2 separate regions of the Homo sapiens genome follow, and region 1 is linked to region 2. Evidence: promoter capture Hi-C in 16 types of primary human blood cells and fetal thymus (Javierre and others, 2016). All regions are on one chromosome and are shown on one strand. The core of a region is centred on a gene start or on the middle of the fragment in contact, and the rest is flanking DNA. Distances in the headings are between cores, read along the strand shown. Region 1 overlaps BAIAP2 (BAR/IMD domain containing adaptor protein 2). Region 2 holds the start of NPTX1 (neuronal pentraxin 1).

Region 1 (7,657 bases), core at 3,500-5,999, 590 kb after region 2:
AGCCCCGGGGACGTTGCTCATTTCTGGTCACCTTCTCCTCCAGCTGTCCTTGCTGCCCCAGGATGGGAGGATGGAAGGTGCTGTCCCTGCTCTCTGGGAATGAGCCAGGCCCTCAGTGGGTGGAGCCCCTCCCAGGAAGGCAGAGCCCTGGTCTGTGCTGGGGTGGAGGTGCTCAGCTCAGACCAGCCCCTTGCTTGGCCGGGAGGTGGTTTTCAGTGATTTGGTCCTGACACCCGGCCGAGCAGGGCCCCAGCCTGTCCTCTCTCTGCTGGCCTCCCACCCGGGCCCCTCTGGGTGTGGCCTTGTGGCCATATGGGGCCAGGGTTGCCAGGCAAGCAGTGGTGCCAACCCTGGCTGCCCTTCTTCCTCCTCTTCTCATTCCTTCCCCACTTTCATTCTTCGCACCTTTTCTTTCCCATGTGGCACCTGCTCTACTCACAGGGCAGTCTGCCTTTAGTCCTGTGGGTCTCTCTGTACCTGCACCTCTGGCCCTGTAGTGCCCACAGCCGGGGAGGTGGCCTCGGGCTATGTAGCCCTCACGGGGAGGTCCTGTCTTCAGCCCCGTCAGGATGACGAGGATTCGGCTGCACTGACTCCCGGCTAATCACTGTGGATGATGCTGCCCGCTCCCCCTTTCCCTGCAGAGCCCTGAGCTCTGTTCTTCCTGGGAAGAGTGAGGGTCCTGGCAGCACCCCCTCACTGTAGCCAAGCGTGCTGCTCCAAGTGAGCCCCAGGTCTCCGGAGCCGGGAGCCAGCCTTGGCCTGCGTGAGCTTTCATGCTTCTGAACCAGAGCCTGGCCCAGGGGTGAAAGCCCAGAGAGTCTTTTTTTGCTTTAAATGAGCAGCTGGGGCTGCCCCTTTGTTCTCTCTCCTGGAGTGAGGAGTGGCTGGGTCAGAGCCGGCCTTTGGTGATGTGGGTCTTTCTGTACCTGTGGCTCTGGCCGTCTGGCACACAGCTGGGGAGGCAGCCTCGGGCTTTGTGGCCTGCAGACCTCACAGACGGAAGGGCCTCCCGTCTTCAGTCAGAGACTGTTTTTTCCCTGCAGTGAAAGAGTTTCTGCAGTTAACTCTCAGGGCTTTGCTTTGATATGGCAAGCGCTTAGTCAGGGAATGGAGTGGCAGCTCCAAGTTCCGGAAGCTTCTCACAGCCCTTCTAATCCCCTAGCCGGCAGCCACCCACACTTGGCTGTCTGCTGGCTGACTGGTTTTCCAATCCCCGCCATGGTGTTTCTCCCTTCCAGCTCCGGCAGGCGTGATTCCGGGGCACACCCACTGCTCTCAAAGCCCCTGAGCCAGTGCCTGGGTTAGACTTTTCCCAGGGGCGTCTGCTCCTCATCCTCTTGGGCTTTGTGCTTGGGTTGACTGGCAGCTCGGGGAGACTGGAGTGGCCGGCTGGATCTGAGTCCTGTAGGCCAGTCCTGGCATGTGTAGACACTCAGTGTCCCTGTGGCCCAGGAGCAAGCCTGGCAGGTGACCCGAGGGAGGGCGGGCCCAGCCTGGTCACAGAAGCAGTGCTGTGCCCGTCCCGGCCCCCTGCAGGGGTCCAGGGTCCTGAGCTGAGAGCCTCAGGAATCTGGGGAATTTGCTAAGATGTGTGAGTGGCTCCTCCTCTGTTTTGGGCACCTCCCTGGAGGCTGGCACCACCAGGGGCTGGTGTGGAGACCCAAGGGTGGAGGGCAGGGCAGGTGCTCACCATGCCGCTGGGCCGTGTGGGTGCCTGGGTGGACGTGGCACTGGTTCTTTGTGCGGGTGGAGGACAGCTGTCCAGTCTGCCTCACCGACAGCTGTGGTTTGCAGTGTCCTGTGACTGCACTCCTGAGCACACCCCTCCACCCCCTTGCTGCTGACAGCTGCCTATGGCCCAGGCCCTCTCGCTCCCCCACCCGAGGCTGGGCGCACAGAGCTGGGCTGAGCCTGGGTCTATGCTGGCCAACGGGAGAGGCAGATGGGAGGAGCAGGCCAGAGTCCCAGTGACCTGGGGTCCTGGTACAACGTGTACACCTGGGCAGGTGGCTCTAGCACTGTGTGCCAGAACCGTCTGTATGAAAAGAGGGTCACGTAGCTGCCCTTTGGCCTGGCTGTGCAGGGAGGCTAAGGTCTAATCACCCTGTAGAGAGTTGTCGGCTCTTCAGGACGGTGCCCTGTCTTCAGTGAGGGGGGCTGTCATTGCAGTGAGCGGGGCCGCAGCCCTCCCCAGCAGAGAGCACTGCACTTCCTTTGTGTGGTCAGACCCGCATGTCCAGCCTGTCTATCTGGGGCCCTGAGCCTGTTGTGTTTCTTGTCCAACTGCTCTGTGGCCCTGCCACGGAACACCTGAGCCAGGCTGTTTTGCTCAGCCCTTTCCCATCTCTGGAGGCCTCTGGTGTGTTTTTGTCCTTTGAAGAGGCCGCTGTGTACCCGCTGGTGCCCACAGCATGCTTGTTTGTGATCACAGGGCGTGTGTGTACCTGCTGGGCGCACTGGGCCTGTCCTCTGCCAGCTGCCCGGCATCCCCAGGTGCCCGGGAGAGTGGCAGGAGCTCCCTGTTGGGCCAGCCTCAGAATGAGGATGTTAGCTGGCAGGGGGCATTGTCCCTGCCTGAAACTGTGGGCTGGATTTTGGTCACTGAGTCACTGAATTAAGGTGTGGCCTGGAAACTTCCCATAGCTGTTGGCTGCAGTGCACGCCTCGTTGTCCAGAGTGAGGCAGGTGTTCTGAATGCCCACCTGGGAGAGCTGGGGCCTGGGGCCCCCACAGGTCAGGTGGTGCCCCTCCTGTCCCCGCAGGTGTCGGCCTCCCTCTTAGAGGCACTGAGTGGCTCCCTCCGTGTGTGCGGCATCTCTGCGTCTCTGAAACGTGGGGCCCTGTGCAGAAGGGAAGGTCCTTGGTCATGTGAACCCCAAGGGGACTTCGGGGCTGTCCCCAGTGGCTCCCGTTGGCCAAAGTGGCTCGGAAGCACCATCTCATGTCACTCACCTGGTAGGGCCTCCTGCTCTCTGTGAGGCCAGGCTGTGTCACGGCCCCTCTGGGCTCAGGCGGCTCCATGCACAGTGCACCCAGGGGCCCATGTGTCCCAGCCTCCTCCTGCAGGTGGAGGCCGCAGCCTCCCTTTGGGCCAGTGACTGTGACAGCAGTGTATGGGCATGACACCTGCTTTCAGGCCCTCACGGCAGGGCCTTGCCTTGTAGGCTGCCAAGTCTTCCTGACAGACACCATTTGAAGGCCTTAATTAGATCAACCTTACATCCCCGAGGGGGCCTGACACGGAGGTCCCTGGTTGGTCCCGGACCTCCAGCACAGCGGCGCCTGCAGATGAGAGGGAAGCGAGATGCCCCTGGCCCAAGCCCAGCCTGGGGGCTTCCCTTCCAGAGCCCAACCGCTTGCTCCGACCTGCCTGTACCTCCCTTCCCCCCCACACTATTCCTCCCTCCCTACAGTAGGACTCCGGCAGGGGTGCTCCAGAGACAGCCACCTGAAGAAGCCACCAGGATGCTTGGGAAGGACGCTGCCCTGGGCCCTGCCTCCCGCCCCATGGGGATCTTTCAGGCCCCCACCGCCTGTTCGCAGAGGCGCGTGCTCCTGCTGAACTCTGTGGGGACCCTCCAGCACCTGAGCAGGGGAAGGGGGCGGGGGGGCCTCATGGTGGGCGGGTGGAGGGCCTTGTTCCCCTCTGGCTGTGGCTGGGGATGGCCCAGCCCTGCCCGCCTGCCAACAGCTTTGCGGTGCAGGCTGAGCTCTGCAGGGAGATTAGCAGCCGTCCTGATTGGATTGGCCGTGTTGCAGCCGCGGCAGCCAAGTGTGGGCCCCTGGTCTGGCTGCTCGTGGTTTGATCCTGAGCCGTTTCCTGCTGGTGATCAGTAGCTCCGAGCGTCACCCACAGAGGGGCTGCTGGAGTCTCACTCAGCAAGAGGCTCTGAGGCCCGGCCAGGTGTCCTCTGCCGGCGTTGCTGCTGCTCCCTTTGGCCCAGCATCGCAGCGGGGAGGCACCCTCCCTGAGCGCTCACGCCACAGCGTCAGGCCTCAGCCGGCCAGAGCAGGGAGGACAGCTGGTCTCTCCCCTGAGATGCCGGGGCTGCCTGTCCCCCGGTTGGGGCACAGCTGATGGCACCTGCCGTCCCTCGGTACTGTCACCAGTGCTCCCTAGGGAGGGAAAGAGAGGAGCCGCTCAGCCTTCCTCCTCAAGCCAGGAGCTGCTGAGGTGCTGGCTGCCTCCGATGTGGCCCCACACAGTGTTGGCCGCAGGCCGAGGGGCCTGGGGGCACAGGTGCCGGCTCAGGAGCCTCTGTGGGCAGGTGTCTGCATCTCTGGGGTCCTGGGGGACGTGGGTCCCATGCACTTTGGGTGGTGCCAGTTGGCAGAAGGGTGGGCACGTCAGGCCTGGCAGACACTGGTCGCAGCCACGCAGGGAGATGACGGCCGGTGCTCTCAGGGCGGCCTCTGCTCCTGTTTGCATCTTGTAGGGTTTGGAGCGAGTCAGTGGCTGAGAAACTCTCTCCCAGGAGCAATGTTCCCTCCTGGTCAATAATCAGTGAGCACAGATAGGCGAGGCTGGTTAGGAGCAGACCACGCCCATGGCAGGGGTCTCCCCCTCGGGCACGCGTGAGGAACTGGAGGTCTGAATGGCTTCTGTCCCCTGCAGAGCAGCTGTCTGAGGGGGTCTGTCCCCGGAGGCCAGGACCCTGGTCAGTGCCATCCGGGTCACGGGTGTTCTTTTGGCCCCAGCTGTAGGAGGGCAGCGATGCAGGGCCCAAACCAGAAGCCGCTCCTGAATCCCTGACCCCAGGATCAGTGTGAAACAAAGCCCACGACCCAAGGACCCCGCAGTCAGCAGCCGCACAGACGGAGCCAGCACTGGAGCCCGTCTCAGGTGGCTCCGCTCTTGTGTCCCCTGTCCCCGCTTCCCTGCCCTGGGGAGGGTGCCCCCAAGCCTGGTACTGCAGAGAAGGCCACCTCGGTGGCTCCTTGGTTGTGACATGAAGTCCTGCGGGAGGGCCTGGGGGGACTCCGGTCCCAGGGAGGTGTCTTTCTCAGGATGGGGGGCCATATCTGGTTGCCAGTGTCTCTGTCCAGCCTTGCGTTCCTGGCTGTGGGAGGTGCCAGTGGGTTCCCTTGCCCACAGTGTCTGTGACCGTTGTCCCAGACATGCTCCTGTGTGCCCGCTGCCGAGCTCCAGCTGCTCCAGGCTCCTCCACTCCCCAGTCACACATTTGACGACTTGTCTGGCACTGGGCCCCGTAGAAACAGACAGGACAGGGTCTCAGCAGCCCCAGGGGTGATCCCGGTGGCAGGGGCTGGGCTTAGAAGGATGCGCTGGGTCCTCCGGCTGTCCCCACTGTGCTTGTTTGTTTAAACGTCTGAAGGGCAAACGGCAGAGCATCAACTTCTGGTAGCTCCGAATGGTGGGTCCACGGGCATTCGTGACGGTCTCCTAGGTACAGTTTATACATTGGAAGCATTTTTGTAATTGTTACCAGCAGTCACATGCAGGCGGTCACATCACTGCAGGGCCAACTGGACTGTGTCCCGGGCAGAGACTGAACACGTGCACACACCCAGCCAGAGCACGCACGCGGGCACAGATAGTCCTGGATCCAAGTACCGAGGGGCGGCGCTCATGCCATCTCCATGGAGTGCTGGAGGGGTGACAGGGAGAGTGGCCCCTGGCAAGGTGGTCAGAGAGGCTGGGGAGTGGTCCACGGGGCGGCCGGTCTGAACTGCCCACCTGGCTTCTCGGCGGCCCCCGCTCATGCCATGGGACTCTGGGCAGCTGGGGTCCAGGGCTGGCTTCAAGGACGCCTGCTGGGAGTTCTCGAGTCTGTTCCCTGCCTCTGCAGTAGCCCCTTCCTTTTCGGGAGGTGTAGTCTGCGAGGCCCCTGGAAAAGCCTGGCGGGGGGCGTGGTTCTCCATCCATGGCAGCTCCCTCTGCCCACTCGGGGGACTCTCCCCCGCCAGGACTGTCCACTCACGAGCTCAGTCTGGCCAGTACGTTCCTAGGCAAGGTTCAGTTCGCCTCCCAGCCTTCCTCGGTGGACACCTCTGGTCTCGCCGGTCACGTGGGAGCCATGCCCAGGGCACCTTGGGAGGATGCTGTGCCGTGGGACCTGAACAGGCAGCAGAGGTGACCAGGGTCTTTGGAGATGCACTTGTTGTACCCAGGAAGATTGGAGGGTTTTTTGTTTTCTTGGTTTTTTGTTGTTGTTGTTGTCTTTTCCCCCTTTTTGGAGACAGAGTCTCACTCTGTCACTCAGGCTAGAGTGTGGTGGCGCAGTCATACATAGCTCATTGCAGCCTCCTGGGCTCAAGCGATCCTCCCACCTCAGCTTCTGAGTAGCCAGGACTACAGGTGTGTGCTGTCACGCCTGTATACTTTCTAAACTTTTTGTAGAGACAAGAGCTTGCTTTGTTGCCCAGGCTGGTCTCGAACTCCTGGACTCAAGTGATCCTCCTATCTCGGCCTCCCAAAGTGCTGGGATTACAGGCGCGAGCCACCGTGCCTGGCCAGAGGTTGGTCTTGCAAGGCAAATTTGCCCATGAAGAAAGGAACAGGCCCTGCTCCAAGCTGTGGCCTGGGTCTGCCCTCCACACTGAGCGGACGTCCAGGCAGCCTTCGGGCTGGGTATTGAATGTGCTCTGCCGGGCAACCTTGGTCACTTGTGGCCAAAAGGGAGGTGGAAATGTGGAAAGAAACCCCTCTGCCCCGTCAGACCTTAAACCTCCTTGCGGACACTGGGCAAAGGAAGAGGCAAAAGGTGCTTTGGAGGGAGGAGAGAGGCACAGGGAGGGTTGCTGCAGAGGGGTTCCTAGTGGACGCGGGGGCAGGAGAAGGCCCTGGCGTGCCTGTCCCGCTGCAGCTGTGGGAGCTGGGCTTGGCCAGGTCGCTCAACCCGTGGGGAGAAGGTGTCGGGTTAGCTCAGCCCCCGCAGAGCCTCATCTCCACCCCTGTGTGTCACGTAGGGGCCCTCTGCAGCCTCCACTCCAGCCACCCCGGGTGGATGGCCGCTGACCCGGGAGCCCCCGTCTGCCTGGGACGCTGGGAGTGTGTGAGCAGATTTGGTGCCAGAGGCCCGGGCAGGCCTGAGGGTCCTTGATCCCAGCGTGATGGTGCGTTGCTGGTCCAGGGCCCATCCTTGGAGCCGGCGGGTTGGAGTGGTGGCTCAGGACAGTGGGGGTGGATGACAGAAGGCAGCCTCGGCCTCTGCTCTCCCTCCACCCCCATGTCCAAGATCTGAATGCTGACCCAGCCTTGACACCAAGGTGGCTCTTTGGACTTGCTTGGTTTCAGAACTGTGTGTGGGGAAGCAGCGTCAGCTACCGTCATCACCATGGCAACACAGACATTGATTTTTTTTTTTTCCCCCATTGGTTACCCGCTGGCCACATTCCATTTTTGCCTTTTTTGTAGGTGGGAGAAGAACTCTGCTTCTCCCAAGGAGAAGCTGGTGGCTGGAGGGCAGCAGAGAGAAGGGGCGGGATTGGGAGTCACCCCCGAGGTGGCGTCCTTGGGCTTTGGGTCAGCACTGGATCTGGTCCCCTGGCCCCTGTGGGGGCTCTGATAGCAAGATGTCCTGTCAGCCCCCTGGCCATCTGTCCTTCCCCGTGATGAGGGCGCTCTGTTCGAGCCCTGCCCAGGTGGGTGGTGATGAGCTCTCGAGGTGCCTTTGGGCTCTGGAAGCCACCA
Region 2 (6,965 bases), core at 314-2,813:
GGAAGAAACCTGCTTAACAGCCTCAGCGGCCCGGGGAACGAGAGCGCCCAGCCCCAGCCTGCACCCAGCTGTACGCTGAGGCTGGGGACCAGGGAGAGACAGGCTTTCTTAAGCAGGGAGGGTTTGAGCCAGCGACAGCCACTGTGCAAAGTTACTGAGGATTAAACAAATCAGACTTGAAAAATCCAGCGAGTGTGTGAGTGTGTCTGGATGGGGGAGGGGGCACTATGCAATCCCCTTTCCCAGAGACAGCCCCAGCCCAAGGCACCCAGCCCTGATAGAAACACCGACTAGAAGCCCAGAACCTGGGAAGGGGTGCGGGGAATGAGAAAGCGGTGCAGGGGTTGGGGGTAGCGGAGCGGCTTGAGGCTTGCACAGTGCAGAGCTGGGCTGTTAGGGATCGGGACCGAGGCAGGGTCGGGCAAGCAGGTGCAGGCAGGCAGCACGGCTCCCCCTGGCCCCAGTACCTTTCTCGAGCTCGCTGATCCGCTGGTGCAGGGAGGTCAGGGCGGTCTCGATCTTGACCCTCTCCTCGGTGTCGTTCCTGGGGCCCCCCTTGCCCTCCTCCAGGGTGTTCACCCGGGACAGCACCTGCCTCTCCAGCTCATCGATCTTGCTCTGCAGCAGATCCTTGAGGCTGTTGGTCTGGCTGGAGGAATTGAGGCGGCTGTACTGCTGCGGGGTGCAAGGGCGGGGGAAACCACACCGTTAGGCGAGGCGCGGGGACCGTGCTGGAAGGCCCGCGGCGCGGTCCCCTCTGGGCGACTGCGGGGGCGGCCTGGCAGGGAGCTGGGGCGAGTGGCCGCCGCGGGGCCTCGCAGGCGCGGGGAGGCACCGGCCGGGCACCCGCGCGGCTGAGGCGAGGGCGGGGGATGCCTGGCCGGGTAGGGAACGGGGTGGGGGAGGGCAGAGGGGCGAGCGAGCCGGAGGGGGAACCGGAGCCGAGGGCGCGCGCGGACCTCGAGGTTCTCCAGGCGGGTTTTGAGCGATTGCAAAGTTTGCCCGAGTTGGCTGAGCGTCTCGGCGGCCGGTGTCCGGGACAGGTCGCCCATGGTGTTCTTGCCCGAGCCGGGCTGCTTGCGGCCGCCGCCCGCCCGGGCCTCGCCGGCTCCGGGGTCCAGCGTGCTCTGGCTCTCGCAGCGGCCCAGCTTGGCGGTCAGCTCGCGGATGGTCTCCTTCTGGCTCAGGATGGTCTCCTTCTGCTGCAGCACCGTCTCGCGGAGCTGCAGCACGCTGCTCCGGAGCTCCTCGGCGCCGCCGGCGGCCACGGACGCGGCGCACATGTCGGCGTCCACGGGCACCGAGGTGCAGATGAAGCGCGTCGGCCCGAAATCCTGGGCCCCGGCGCCCAGGAGGCAGAGGGCGAGCAGCGCACAGGTGCGCGCGGCGCGGCCGGCCGGCATGGCTGCGGGCACCGGGCGCTCCGGGCCCGGCTCGGCTCGGCTGGGGCTCGGCTCCGGCTGGGACCCGGCTCGGGCTGTGGCTCCGCGAGCGGCCCGCGCTCTGGGCGCCGCGCTCTTCGGCCGCGCGGTCCACACCGCCGCGCTATCAGGCCCCCACTGCCGCCTGCGCTGCGGAGCCCGCGCCTTTTATGCCGCCGCGGGAGGGGCCTCGAGCCGCCGACGTCAGCGGGGGAGGAATCCCGCTTTAATTGTCCGCGGCCCGGGCCCGCGGCGCGGCGGGGGTCTCACGAGCGCGCCACCGGGGCTGCCTCCGCTCGCGTCCCCCCCGCCCTTCTGGGAGCTGCCGCGGCCCCCTCCTCCCCCGCCCCCGCCTGGGCCGGCGCTGCTGCCCCGAAGGCTCCGAGAGCTCAGGGGGAAGGAAGTCGGGCTCCGGCCCCGGACTCGAGGATGGACCACCTGCGTGGTGTCCCCGAACCTCCGACGGGGCTCCAGGCGGGCGGGAAACCACCGCGTCCGGGAGATAGAATTCGGTTCGGCCCTCCTGGCTGCACTGAACACCCTTGGGCCGGGGTCGTTTGGAGCCGGGCTGGGTGCCCAAGGACCCAGGTCGTCAACACCCGAGTGCCCGGTGGTCAACGGCTCGGAGTGGGGCCTCGCGGCGCCACTAAGTCCAGAGCGGGGGTCACCGGGCCGCCCCGCGTTTCTTAGATGTCCGTGTGCTATTGAGAAGCCGCCGGGCAGCCTGGGTACAGGGACTTCCCACGGGTCGGGGCCCCCGGCGCCTCCCCTCCCCCAGCTCCCGGGCTCTGTGGACCCGGCCCCGTCCCCGGGGGACTGTCAGTCCCCACCCCGTGCGGGCGGGGCGCTGGGGACTTCTCGGAGGCAGACCTAGCTGATCGAGCCTTTCCTGTCCGCGGCGCCGGCCCGATCGCGGGCAGGCGGCGTCGCCGGGGCTGGACGTTCGCAGCGGCGCTTCGGAAGGGGGCCCCGCGGGAGCAGCCGCCCGCGTCTCCAGCAGCTTCCCCTTGCCAGGCGCCGCGCGCGCCCGGTATCCCCGGGTGTCCACCTGTGCGTGGGGGGCTGTTTCCCGTCTGTCCAGCCGCGCCCACTTCTCAGGCCCAAAGGCCAGCAGGAAGGGTCCCGGAGGTGGCTGGGGGCGTCCACCTGAGAAGCTCCGCTCTCGCTCAGACACCCCACCCGGCACCCGCGCACTCGCGCCTTCATCTGGACCGCGGGGCTCGGCTCCCGAGATCGCGGTCCGGGTTCCGGCGCCGGGCTGGGGGCTCAGGACCAGGGCTGGCGCAGCCGCCCCGCCCCGCCCCGCCCCGGGGCTATCAGAGCGGTCAAAGCCTCGGAAATCCCTCCGTCCACGCTCCCGTGGTACAGAGAAGGAAACTGAGGCTCCGAGACTGCGGGGCCGGGCTACAGCCGTGGCCCCCCGACCCCTCCCCGCCGCCCCCGGCTTCTCTGGTCTCTGCGTTCTGCAGCCTTTCCCTGCGCGCAGCCGGGGGCTGGGGGTCCCCAGCCAGCAGGGACCCACGGGCAGTCCCGGGTGCCGGGATCGGGCGTCCGCCCCTCGGGCGGGAGCAGAGGCCGGCTCGATGGAGACCTTTTTGAGAAATGGCGGCCTCTACCCGCCCCCCAGCCCCCGAGCGCCCGCCGTCTGCGTTCAGCATCTCAGCTTTTAAGCCTCCCTGAGCCGGGGCTGCGTTCTCGTTGTCTCCTTCGGCCGCCGCTTCCTGGCGCCAGAGGGACCCCGCGGCCCGCACGGGCCTGTCCTCGGCTCCGCTCGGAGGGTGTGCGGGTTCCCGCTCCGCTGGCCCCGCTTGCCCACCACGGCGCGCCCAAACCCACGCGGCCCGCGGCCCCTTGCGTGCTCTGCCGACCCCGGGCCGCAGGAGGGGTTAGCCTCGCCGGTCCCCACGCGGGGTCTGCGCCGGCAGCGCCACGGGCTGGAACGCGCCTCGGGAGAAATTACCCGCGCGGGGTCGCGGCGTCTTCTGCCCCAACTCCCGTAGGGAGCCGCTAGGCGGGTGCCCTCCTGGCCCCAGCGCTTTGGCCTCGCCGCCCTCCCGCACGCGTCCAGTGGGGAGGCCGCGCCCGTCAGGCCTGGAGCCGGACCGTGCCCAGCCGAGAGCGCGCGGGCGCGGGAGAGGAGCCCTGCCCTGCCCAGGGCAGGCTGTTTAGACGGGGCGGGAACCCTTAGCCTGGCCCCGCGTCTCTATCCCCAGCAGCCGTGGAGCCTTCCTAGCCGCCCAAGGCCAGGGACCCTGCCTGGCTTTTCCTCCAGGGCAGCAGATCTCAGCGGCCTGGCACCTCGGCACAGAGGAGCGTGTCCCCCTTCCGCAGAGGAAGGGAGTGGACGGCGTCAGAAAGGGAGGGGAGCCTGGGGCGGTGTCTGGGGCTAGCGGGACCTCTGGGCACTGTGGGGCCCCAGGAGAGGAGACCCTCGGGTCCAGCCTGCAACTGTTGTGCAGGAGGCGCTGGGCGGGACACCTGCAGGCGCTGCACACACACGCGAGGGCCACCATGCCGCGTTTCTCCTTCACAAGACCCTGGGCAAGCGGAGGGTCGTATTTAGGATTCCCTCGGCCTCCCCAGTGTTCTGAAAGTATCTGAGAGGGAGGGAGCAGGAAAACGAAGGGCCGCCCTGCCCAAACTCATCGGGGTGTCTGGTTACTAGGTCGGAAGAGGGGGGATGGTGTTGTGAACAGCCAGTGATCCCGGCCCTGCCTGAGTCCCACACCCCAGATGCAGCTGGGGTGAGGGAGGCGATCCCGTAATATTCCCAGCCGCGTACATTTGTGGCTGCCTGTGACACGACCTCACTCATTGGGAAACCATGCACACTAGCACACTGTTATTTTATTTTTGAGACAGGGTCTTGCTCTGTTGCCTAGGCTGGAGTGCGGTGGCGCAATCACAGCTAACTGCAGCCTCGACCTCTTGGGCTCAAGCGATGCTTCCTGCACCACCACACTTCAGCTAATTTTTTTTGTTTTTTTCGTAGAGATGGTTGAACTCCTCTTGCCTTGGTCTTGGGACTACAGGTGCAAGCCACAGCGCCCGGCCTAGCACAATAGTACTTATTATACTACTCCCACCATAACGGTGCAATAGATGTGAATAAAACTCAAAAGCATAGACAAGGCTGGGCGCAGTGGCTCACGCCTGTAATCCCAGCACTTTGGAAGGCCAAGCTGGATCACATGAGGTCAGGAGTTTGAGACCAGCCTGGCCAACATGGTGAAACCCCGTCTCTACCAAAAATACAAAAATTAACCAGGTGTGGTGGCACACATCTGTAATCCCAGCTACTTGAGAGGCTGAGGCAGGAGAATCACCTGAACCTGGGAGGCAGAGGTTGCAGTGAGCCGAGATCGAACCACTGCACTCCAGCCTGGATGACAGAGCAATACTGTGTCTCAAAAAAAAAAAAGATAGACAATAGTTCAATGTAAGAAAATAATTAGAAAGTGATGAGTTTGTAGTATTTATTGCCCATTTAAAATATAATTTATTTAATTATAAGTTTACTTAGTTTAAAATGTAATAGTGGCTGTGTTTAACCATCGACCTGTGAAATTCCTGCAAATGCCACCATCAGTGGGTACTGGCCGGCTCAGCTCACTCCTGGTGGAAGGGCACGGAGAGGCCTGCAGAGGTTAGTTGGTAGTGGGAGGGGGAGTGTAGAGAAGGCAAAGGGGGCAGGTGTCCAGGAGAGGCCCTGGTTAGTGGCCAGTATGGAGAGGGTGGCCAGGCATAAGAAGACTAGACAGACCGGGTGCAGGGGCTCACGCCTTGAATCCCAGCACTTTGGGAGGCCGAGGTGGGTGGATCTCTTGAGCCCAGGAGTTTGACACCAGCCTGGACAACATGGCAAAATCTCATCTCTACAAAAATACAAAAATTAGCCAGGCATGGTGGGGTGCACCTGCAGTCCCAACTACTCTGGGGACTGAAGTGGGAGGATTGTTTGAGCTCGAGAGGTTGACGCTGCAGTGAGCCGAGACCACGTCACTGCACTCCAGCCTGGGCAACACAGCAAGATCCTGTCTCAAAAAAAAAAATTTTAAAAAAAGAAGGCTAGCCGGGTAGGTTGGGAGGTATTAAGAGGACCTCAGTGCCCATCAAGAGTCTTTACTCAGTGGACGGTGGGAGCTCATGCAGGGGTGTGCCTAAGCCTGGTGGGTGCCTGTGCCCCTTGCTCATCCTGCCGTATCTCCCCGGCCTCTCATCTTCCAGGCCATGCCTTGAGCTTATCTGGAACCTCCACCCTTAGCAGGAAGAAGGGTGAGCAATGGGTGGGTGCTGGGAGAATGCTGGGAGGGCCTGAGAGCACTGCGGGGTGCTAGGCAGAGGCACCCTTCTCTGCCCCACTTGCCTCAGCCCTTCCCGCATGATGTTCCATGCTGCCTCTGGAGGGGTGAGGCTGGGAGGGGAGGGTATGGTGGGGTGGGAGAGGCCCTGGTCCCCCACCCGCAGAAGAGAAGCAGGAGCCCTCGATGATCACAGCCCTGGGATAGACACAGTGCCTCAGCCAAGGGTCAGGTACATGCCCCTCTGGAGGACAGGCTGTACCCCTCGGAGACTCATTGCATTGGCAGCTGGTCTAGGATGTGGGACAGTCTGCGGTAAGGTGAGTGGCCGGGGTTTTAGTGTGTGAGATGTGCAACGCCATTTTCACCTGCATCTGAGTTTCCAGCAGCTCGCAGGGTACCGGCCATATTGTTTCTCTATCTGGGTGCTGATCTCATGGGGTGTTTGTCTTGTGACCATTCACTGGGCTGTCCAGGTGCAATCTGTGCACCTTTCTCTGTGGTTCTATGCCTCACACAGGGTGTGCAGGGCACAGCATCCGCAGGGTGTCCTGGGCAGAGGAGAGGGGCTTCTGGCCGCACCAGGGGAGAAGGCACAGGGACCTCTGGCAGCCCAGCCCTCAGGACACAGTCAGGCCACGTGACCTTCCCCCCAAGTGAGGCGCCCCTGGACCCACAGGGTTGGGTGTGGGGCTGCTCTGACGGCAGCCAGTCCCACGGGGCCTCTGAGTCACAGCCTCAGCCCACCTGTGCCTTGGAGTCACTCCTGACAGCCCCACCCACCAGCTCTGTGTGATAAGGGACAGGTCCCTGCTCCCCGGCTCTGCTGAGGGAGGCGCCCCACCCGAGCCTTCCCCTCTGTCCTCTACATGACACCCCTGCGGTGGTAACCTAACTGTGTCTTAAAAACAAGCACTTGTCCCCTTTCCAAGTCCTGGGTCCACATTCACGCATTTGCCTTTCAAAGGCACAGCTGGGCTCTAGTCCTCGCTCACCACAGAGGAAACACAGGGAAGCCCAGAGAAGCCAAGGTCGCACCGTCGCCCAGCGAAGGCAGAGCTGGGGCCAAGCCCTGGCCTTCGCACTCCATGTGGCCACTTTATCTCTGCCCAGCACAGGAGCTGCAAGGAAAAGACTCCAGGAGAGGAGCCCTGAGGGGACAGTGCCCCAGCCCACCCATGTCCAGTGAGTGGGCAGGGCAGGTGGGGCTGCGGACCCCAGGCTCAAGACCTTCTCACCAGCC

The links. Contacts are between HindIII fragments. The CHiCAGO score rates a contact against its expected background, and 5 or more counts as called.
Region 1: a fragment that was not itself captured here is called in contact with the fragment with the promoter of NPTX1 in region 2 in 1 of 17 cell types (naive CD4 T cells); the score reaches 5.5 in naive CD4 T cells.

What each region holds. Positions count from the first base shown.
Region 1 is chr17:81,063,780-81,071,436 of GRCh38, forward strand. The region is part of intron 3 of BAIAP2 (BAR/IMD domain containing adaptor protein 2); the gene reads left to right. Among named protein-coding and RNA genes, the nearest start is that of BAIAP2, 32 kb to the left of the region's middle. RefSeq lists enhancers at 1-157, 765-1,371. The HindIII fragment of the contact is 7,227 bases long and covers 1,137-7,657 here.
Region 2 is chr17:80,475,044-80,482,008 of GRCh38, forward strand. NPTX1 (neuronal pentraxin 1) reads right to left here and starts at 1,564. Exons shown (of 5, transcript NM_002522.4): 1 at 960-1,564; 2 at 468-675. The coding sequence starts at 1,403. RefSeq lists an enhancer at 18-551. The HindIII fragment of the contact is 19,396 bases long and covers 1-6,965 here.